2 separate regions of the Homo sapiens genome follow, and region 1 is linked to region 2. Evidence: promoter capture Hi-C in 16 types of primary human blood cells and fetal thymus (Javierre and others, 2016). All regions are on one chromosome and are shown on one strand. Each heading gives the region's core, a stretch centred on a gene start or on the middle of the fragment in contact. The rest is flanking DNA. Distances are from core to core; before and after follow the strand shown. Region 1 overlaps FRMD4A (FERM domain containing 4A). Region 2 holds the start of FRMD4A-AS3 (FRMD4A antisense RNA 3).

Evidence for each region. The method cuts DNA at HindIII sites, captures the fragments that hold promoters and counts their contacts. A CHiCAGO score of 5 or more calls a contact.
Region 1: a fragment that was not itself captured here is called in contact with the fragment with the promoter of FRMD4A-AS3 in region 2 in 2 of 17 cell types (activated CD4 T cells and endothelial precursors); the score reaches 6.1 in activated CD4 T cells.

Annotation. Positions count from the first base shown.
Region 1 is chr10:13,780,273-13,784,574 of GRCh38, reverse strand. It overlaps FRMD4A (FERM domain containing 4A), which reads left to right. Exons shown (of 25, transcript NM_018027.5): 6 at 1,569-1,653. Among named protein-coding and RNA genes, the nearest start is that of PRPF18, 200 kb to the right of the region's middle. The HindIII fragment of the contact is 4,685 bases long and covers 1-4,112 here.
Region 2 is chr10:14,070,982-14,075,707 of GRCh38, reverse strand. It overlaps FRMD4A-AS3 (FRMD4A antisense RNA 3), which reads right to left and starts at 1,424. Exons shown (of 3, transcript NR_120638.1): 1 at 882-1,424. All of the region lies in intron 2 of FRMD4A (FERM domain containing 4A), which reads left to right. The HindIII fragment of the contact is 2,533 bases long and covers 1-2,374 here.

The DNA.
Region 1 (4,302 bases), core at 521-3,020, 290 kb after region 2:
GGAATCTAAAAGTATCATTTGAAGCTGGACATTCCAAGTTGTTGCCCCTCAGGTGATTGTATTGATTAGAAGAATTCATTTTTAAATTAATTACTATAAATGAATAGAACTTCTTGAAGCTAAGGGCATCAGTTTGTTCACCTTATACGATGTTGGTCTCTTGTTTTTGCTGCTGCTGTTGTTGTTTACATTGTAGTCAGTTTCCAATATTTAAAAACCAGTGGACTTCTTAGGTAGAGAACCACTTCTTCTTTTACGGTCTGAAGAACAGAAGCCCAGCAGGATGATGTGACTGCCCTGAGTCACACAGAGCTGGGGACTCCATCACTGCTCTCTGACTCCCTCCAGAGGATTCTGGCCCTCAGATTATAACACTATTCTAGAAAACTGTAGTACTTGTTTCTTCTCATTTCACCTTCCTCACCTTCTGCCTCTTCTTGGTGAACCCAGTTTCCAAGAGCCCCAGGTACCCAGCACCCTCCTAGTCCACCCTAAGGGTTGCTACACCTGCTCAGAACCTTCTTCCCTCCAAGATGTTGCATTTCAACCTTTCCCCTCTCTTCCTTTCAACTCCTAGTCCTTCAGTGCGGCTGGTCATTAGACAGTACAAGCGCATTATCTCATTAAAGAATTTAATAAACTCCAAAGTCAATATTATAAAGGCACATTTAGTGTAAACTTAAATAATGGCAGCATGTTTCATCTTGAAAATATCTATAAGCTCCATCTAGATGAAATCCGATTCTCATTTGGCTTAATATGCATTCATATCACAGTGTTAAGAGCACTTAGCATAGCTCTCCGAATGTGCAGAAATCAAATCACACTTCACCACCTTCGGGAGTAGTAGTAACCATTTCAAAGAAAGCTGTGATTAAGAAGAAATTATCTTTTAAAAATCCAACTTGGCTGGGCACAGTGGCTCACATCTATTACCCCAGCATTTCGGGAGGCTGAGGTGGGCAGATAATTTGAGCCCAGCCTGAGCAACAAAGGAAGACTCCGTATCTACAAAAAAAAAAAAAAATTAGGCGTGGTGGTATGCAACTGTAGTCTCAGCTGCTCAGGAAGCTGAGGCGGGAAGGTTGCTTGAGCCTGGGAGGTCAAGGCTGCAGTAAGCCATGCACCACTGCACTCCAGCCTGGACAACAGAGCGAGACCCTGTCTAAAAAAAGAAAAAAAAGGAGAAGAAAAGAAAATCCAACTCAATGACAATTTAGGACAAACAAGCAATGTGATGAAAACAAATAACATTATGTAAAATTATAAAGCAGATAGGACAAAGAAATCAGAGGCCTAGTTTTAGAATTTGTTCTTACAAATTGGTGGTAGACCCAGTTCTTTGGTTATGGTGAGGCCCATTAGGCGTGACCCTAAGCCACTATCAAAACTCCAAAAACAGTTTGTCCTCCCTAGGGAATCATAGAAAAACCATGGATGGTGCCTTTTTCCTTTGTTTATTTAGGATGGGGAATGCCAGCTTTCATCTCAAATCATGTAGCTCAAGAGAGCACTTTATTTTCTGCACCTGCTGTTTCTGTGGTTCACGCACCATTTTTCTCTTTCAGGTTCTATATAGAAAGCATTTCATACCTGAAGGATAATGCTACCATTGAGCTTTTCTTTCTGAACGCGAAGTCCTGCATCTACAAGGTAGGAACTCCCTCTCCCTCAATTTCCCTCTGAAACCTGAAAGTATCATTTGAAGCTGGAAATTCCAAAGTGTTACCCCTTAGGCCATTTTATTGATTAGGAGAAGTCATTTATAAATTAATTACTATAAATAAATGGAATGTTATGAAGCTAACGGCACCATTTAATAATGTGATTCCTGACCCGGCGCGCTGGCTCACGCCTGTAATCCCAACACTTTGGGAGGCCGAGGCGGGTGGATCACGTGGTCAAGAGATTGAGATTATCCTGGCCAACGTGGTGAAACCCTGTCTCTACTAAAAATATAAAAATTAGCTAGGCATGGTGGCACATGCCTGTAGTCCCAGCTACTTGGGAGGGTGAGGCAGGAGAATTGCTTGAACCTGGGAGGTGGAGGTTGCAGTGAGCTAAGATCACGCCACTGCACTCCAGCCTGGTGACAGGCGGAGACTCCATCTCAAAAAAAAAAAAAAGGAATAATAATAATAATAATAATAATGTGATTCCTTTGATCCATGGCTGTGTTTCTGGCTCTGTGGACATGTTTCCTAACCTTATTTTAAAGGTCTCCTGATTTTAAAGATTTCTTTGTCAACTGAGACAAAGGTGAAAAGCCTAGACAAGTATGACAAATGCACCAGTCAACTTAGACAGGTCTTGCAGATAGGAATGAGCTTCTTATAACCAAATACGTGTATATTTGACCATTTTTAGTTGGTCTAGCAGCATCTTTCAAAGGGACGCTATTGTCACTTTGAGACAGTTTCTTTTTTAAAAAAAATTGTAAAATGCACATACATTTACTATCTTAACCATTTTGGAAAATATTTTTATATTTCCATAGGTTTTTGGGGAACAGGTGGTATTTAGTTACATGAGTAAGTTCTTTAGTTGTGATTTGTGAGAATTTGGTGCACCCTTCACTCGAGCAGCATACACGGAAGTCAGTTTGTAGTCTCCGCCATTTTTAAGTGTGCAGTTCAGCGGCATTCAGTACACTCACAATGTTGTATAACCATCCCCACCGTCATTCACCCAAGAGCTCTTTTCATCTGCTAAACTGAAACTCTGTACTCATTAAACAACTTCCCCTTCCCCGTTTTCCTCAGCCACTGGCAACCACTACTTTTTGTCTCCATGAATTTAACCACTCTAGTACTTCATATAAGTGGAATCATATATATTTGTCCTTTTGTGTCTGGCTTACTTTACCTAGCATAATGGCCTCAAGGTTCATCCATGTTGGCTGTGTGTGGTGGCTCATGCCTGTAATCCCAGCACTTTGGGAGGCCGAGGCAGGCGGATCACCTGAGGTCAGGAGTTTGAGACTAGCCTGGCCAACATGGCGGAACCCCATCTCTATTAAAAATACAAAAATTAGCCAGATGTGGTGTTTTGTGTCTGTGATTCTAGGTATTTGGGAGGCTGAGGCAGGAAAATCTCTTGAACCTGGGAGGTGGAGGTTACAGTGAGCCGAGATCATACCACTGCACTCCAGCCTGGGCAACAGAGCAAAACTCTGTCTCAGAAAAAAAAAAAAAAAAAAAAAAAAAGGTTCATCCATGTTGTAGCGTGTATCAGAATTTCCTTCCTTTTTTTTTTTTTTTTTTTTTTTAATTTTTAAGACAGGGTCTCTCTCGCCCAGGCTGGAGTTCAGTGGTGCAATCTTGGCTCACTGCAACCTCCACCTTCTGGGTTCAAGTGATCCTCCTACTTCACCCTCCTAAGTAGCTGGGACTACAGGTGTGTGCCACCTCACCCAGCTAATTTTTGTATTTGTTTATGGAGACAGGGTTTCACCATGTTGGCCAGGCTGGTCTCAAACTCCTGGGCTCAGGTGATCTGCCTGCCTTGGCCTTCCAAAGTGCTGGGATTACAGAAGTGGGCCACCACGCTTGGCTGCCTTCCTTTTTAAGGCTAAATAACATTTTATTGTCTGTGTAGATCACCTTTTGTTGATCCATTCATACATCAAAAGGCACGGGTTATTTCCAAAACCTTTTGCCTATCATGAATAATGCTGTTATGAACATGGATGTCTAAATATCTCCTCGAGACCCTATTCCCAGTTGTTCAGGGTATATACCTATAGGTGGTATTGCCAGATCATAGGGTACTTCTATTTTTCATTTTTTGAGGAGCCATCCCTACTGTTTTCCATAGCAGCTGCACCATTTTACATTTCTACCAACAGTGCCCAAGGGTTCCAGTTTCTCCACATCCTCTCCAACATTTGTTATTTTCTATTTTGCTTTATTAAATTGATGACCATCCCAATGGGTGTGAGGTGTATCTCATTGTGGTTTTGATTTGCGTTTCCCTGTAGACTAGTGATGTTGAGCATATGTCCGCATGCTGTTGGCCATTTGTGTATCTTCTTTACAAAAATGTTTGTTCAAGAGATGATTCCTAATTGAGAGCGACAGCCCCTTGTCCTGTATCCAATTGCTCCATAAGCTTGTAGTGTCTCCTTTTGTGGGATGACCCAAAATGCCTACACCCCTTTACAGCACACACCTCCTCCCGGGGAAGATGGACTTGCGGAATATCACTGAGGTTAGGAACTGCGACTAAAAGAACATTTTTTTTTTTTTTGAGACACAGTCTCACTCTGTTGCCCAGGCTGGAGTACAATGGCACAATCTCAGC
Region 2 (4,726 bases), core at 175-2,674:
CAGCATATGGATATAAAGGTATACACATAATACAGAAATTATACCCACACATGCTTATATTTGCCTATATTTAAGAAATTTGCATCATGCACAGCCAGTGAAACTTTACGCTTTCATATCTAAGCCATTTCAGCTCAGGTTAGGCTAAAGAATACTTTTTCACTGTTGGTTTTGAGAAGCAACATGATATGTTGGAAGGAGCAACGACAGAAAGAGATAGGCACAGGTTCCAGTTCTGTCCCTGTTCCTAGTGCCCAGGAAGGCTACGTAATCTCTATAGACCTTGGTCTCCTGATTTGGAAAATAGAAATAATAAACCACACACACATCATGTTGTTCTAACAGTTAAACATGGTTGTGGAGGTCAAGCATTTAACATGTGTCTGGATCCATTAGGTGTTAAGAAAATAATATGTCCTCCCCTTTCCTCTTCTCAATATAGTAAAATAATCAGATGAGCAGCATTTCACCAGGACATAAAGTGCTTACAACTGGAAGGAAAAACCATTTTTCAAGGTGATGTAGACCATTTATTGTTTTTATGTAAATGTGATTGTAACTTAAAACAAGCTGTATCTAGTGACCAGTGGTGACCTTACAGTGTCTTTTCTTGGCAGTGCTACGTTAGCACTGGAAACTGGTTCAAGTTACCATAGTTTGCTTGCTTTTTTAATTCATAAGGACATCTTTCTTTGATTCTACTCTATGAAACATAGACTGTCAACTAATTCTGGGTAATCTCTTCTCCCTACCTGCAGGATTTTCTGTATTACAAGCTCTGGTAGTATCTAGATTAAACCATCTAAGAGTAAATTCCTGGAAGTCAAGGTCAGAGAGCTTTTCTTACACAGCCTCCCATCACCCAATCCACCATGGCTTACCAGGGTTATCCTCTTAAAATTCCCTCCTGTCCTGTATGAGTCTCCTCAGTGGAGTCCGTCTCCATTCCAGCTGTGTGTAGCCATAAGTTTGACAAATCAACGAGTTCCTGGACACCTTCCAGAATCTGTGGAATTTGAGTCCGGCAGCGACTCAAAAATGGTAAGGGGGAGGAGCTAGTTTTACAGCCAAACATGCGTGCAGATTAAATCAGTGCCCTGCCAGATGAAATGCTTGCCCTTCTACGTGTTCCTGAGGCGTGACCCTCTGAAAGCATGAATCCCCATGGGCATTGCGCCAGGACACAGGAATCCTGCTGCTCAGCACAGCAGTTCATAGCATTCACAGCGTCTGCCATGTCGTTTCAACTGTTGATTCTGATTGCTGTTGCTTTTATCGTCTCGGCATATCCAACACTGCAGCTATGAAATAGCTGATAATTCATCTCGTTGAAGACCCAGGTCTTAAACATTTGCACCATCTGAATCTGACCCTCAGGTCTGGACAAGTAGAGGCCTGTAGCATGGAACCTGGGTCGTGCCGAGTGGGCACAACCTTGGAGCATACATCCCCCTCCCCCATCCACTGCTTCATTATTTGCCGTCTCCATGGAAACCCCATTCTGTACTGTCAGAACTCACCTTGGCCACCTTTGTACTTACCACCTAAGCACTTTCTTGGTGCTATGGTACTACATATGAAACAAAAAAAATTTTTTTTGAGACTATCTTGCTCTGTCATCCAGGCTGGAGTGCAGGGGCACGATCTCAGCTCTGTTCAGCCTCTGCCTCCAGGTTTCAAGCAATTCTCCTGCCTCAGCCTCCCGAGTAGCTGGGATTACAGGCACACACCACCATGCCTGGCTAAATTTTGTATTTTAGTAGAACCAGAGTTTCACTATGTTGCCCAGTCTAGTCTTGAACTCCTGCCCTCAAGTGATCCTCCCACCTCAGCCTTCCAAAGTGCTGGGATTACAGACATGAGCCACCGCCCTATGCAAAATTTAAAAGGAACTTTTGGTGACCCAATTTATACAGGGCAACCTCCAGTCTTTTAACACCTAAGTTATTAGGGATTTCATCTTGACCAGTGGGTAGGTCACAACAGGATCCCGGTGGTGGTGAAAAACCCATGAACACGACACATTCATACCCCTGGACTTCCCCTCACTCCGTTCGCTTCTTCTACAGCAGCCCTTGGACAAGCAAAGACAATGCCAACAACATCAGCCATCATCCCTGAGATCTTTCCCATCATGGACACCAGCCAAGTAATAAGTGACCCCAGCCCCCAGTGTTATTTTGCTTTGGGAGGGTATATCCAGGGTCCTTGGTGTCTAGATTTATCCACACAACCACAAAACCAACCACACAAAGACTGATGGGCAGATTAAGTCAATCACCTAGGAACTCAAGGAATGGGACATTTCTTGCAGCAACTCAATGGATCTAATTCTTCATGACCTAGAACACCCTCCCTTCCCACCAAAGAAGCTTCCAGCTTCATCCCATCTGTCACCTTGTAGCCCTCCCTTCAGCTCCATTAACAAGCCAGCATCCAACTCGCCCTCACTCCCACTACTGCCCCCAGCCTACTAAAGGGACTACAAGAAATACACCAATTATTAAGAGCCCCAGGGAGGGCATATGAATAAAAGACACCACCTGTCACCAACCTCTGAGCTGAGAGATGGAGGTACCCTGGGTTTCCTGGACAGCTGGTAAGGGTGCAGGTTACAAGGGGTTCTCGTAGTGTATGTCTTGTTTTTGTTTCTTTTCTCTATTTCTAAAGCTATTATTTTTTTATCCCTTCTTTTTGGCTCTTTCTCTCTTTCCTTTCATATGAATTATAAACATATGTATATATTTCTCTGATAATCAGTATGCCTGGCTATACTTGACCAAGACTTTTGTTAAAGAAACAAACTTTATATCTGGGAAGTGCAGGTCTGGGGACTGAAAGGAAAGCTATTTTCCGGAAGCACGTTTTATTGCTTTTATGACTCAAATATCTCCATCTCACCTCATTTTCCTTTAAAGCTAAATATGTAGCAAATGGAGATGTACTGATATGGAATCTCAGTGGGAAATGATTGCAGACAAAAAGCTTATTAGCGTGGTTTCTTCTCTTCTAAAAAAACCCTCCCCTTTCCCAAAATAACTGATAAATGGTCCTTTGTGGAGATGGTTGTGATGCAGCTTCAACAGTTATGAAAACCCTGCTTTACATCTTGCTGGAAATGAGAGCATGCATCACAGTTCTGGATGGCAAATTTGGTGGCTTGCTTCTTGTGGTAACTTAACTGAGGCTCAGAAAGCGTTAGGCTTTAGAAGACAAGTTGACTCCAACTCACAGAATTTTAATCTTATAATATTTTCGACTTTTAATTTTCCAAATAATGTTTATAAAGTAGAAGGACGGAGGATATGTGAATCCAACTCTGTTCCCAAAATGGTATAGCCACGGTTGTTATTTTTGGCTTTTTCTTCTTAATATCTTCACTTGGCTTTTTGAGGATATTATCTAGAGAAGTAAGAACTTCTGACTTCTCAAGGCCCCATTTGTGCCTGAACTCAGCCGAGCATCTCCGTGACCCTAAATTGCCTCGTGTCTTCATATCCATTTAGCCATAAAACTCTCGTTGTTCAGCTGATCTCAACTAGATATCCAGAAGAAAGCAGTCTTATTAAACATTCATCATAAAGAATGAATGGTCAATTGACTTGGGCCTTCCCAAGAGAATTTTTACTTTAAGAAGGAAGTTGTTAACATAAATCAATGTCTAATAGGTGGAATTTTAGGTATCAATATCAACATTTATTGAAGGCTTATTAAATGTTGGTCACAGTCCTCTGTGCTTTGTAGTAAAGTCACAGAATTAAGAGAAGCAGCCTTGCAACACGGGGAAGGAAACCCTTCCTACCACCTCCTTCTTTCACCCTTTCAGCTGCAGGCTCCTACTTCATCCAAGGATCCACCTAAGAGTCCACCCTCACCCAGTGTTCTCATCAAGTCTAATTCTTCTACATTCAACACTTACTTGGAGAAGATCCCACTAAGTGCGTATCTTTCTGCACACATACCTGGTCCTCTCTGCCCCATCAGCACCCATATCCTAAGCCACCAAGAACACCCAAGCCCAGTCCACTTACCTCCTAAAAACTGAGTTTAAGGACAGTAATAATTTGTATGTTAACTTCTTTTTCCGTCCCATCTCCACCTCTTTATCTCCTAATTTAAAAATATTTTCTAATCTAAAGTAGGTCTTTTTTTCTTCCTAAATTGTTTCTTTATATAAAATGTTTTCGGATGATGGAAAATTACTGAGTCATTTACAAAGAAGATCTTTCCATTTCAATTTTTAAATGTAATTCATCCTAAACCAATGTTTTCTCATGCTTCTCTATAACATGGGCATACGGTTTATCTTTCAGCTAAAAAAGCAGGATGTACACAGTGGTCACTGTTAATATGAACTCTGTTTAGAGGTCAATTGCATTAAACAGACTTCCTCCCCAGCAGATCCAAGATGCCAGCCTGATTTAATCTTGGTCTCTTAGAGAATTAATGTCGTTTCTGAATGTGGCATGTAGTTTCAGAGGGGACTTAGTTAGCCTTGGAATCTTATTTACTCTTTACTGGCTTCTGAGAAACTGAGATCTAAAAGTCTTCATGCATGGAACAGCCACATAGGCATCAGAAAGGCAAATCAAGAAAGTAAGAAGGACTCGTGTCCAGGGATCCGGGTTCTTTCCCTGGTAAGGGGCGTTTGCCTTGGTACATCAGCGATCTCTGTCTAAGCCTTTTTCCAGAGAATACTTACTGAAGATTCACTGGCATGAATTTT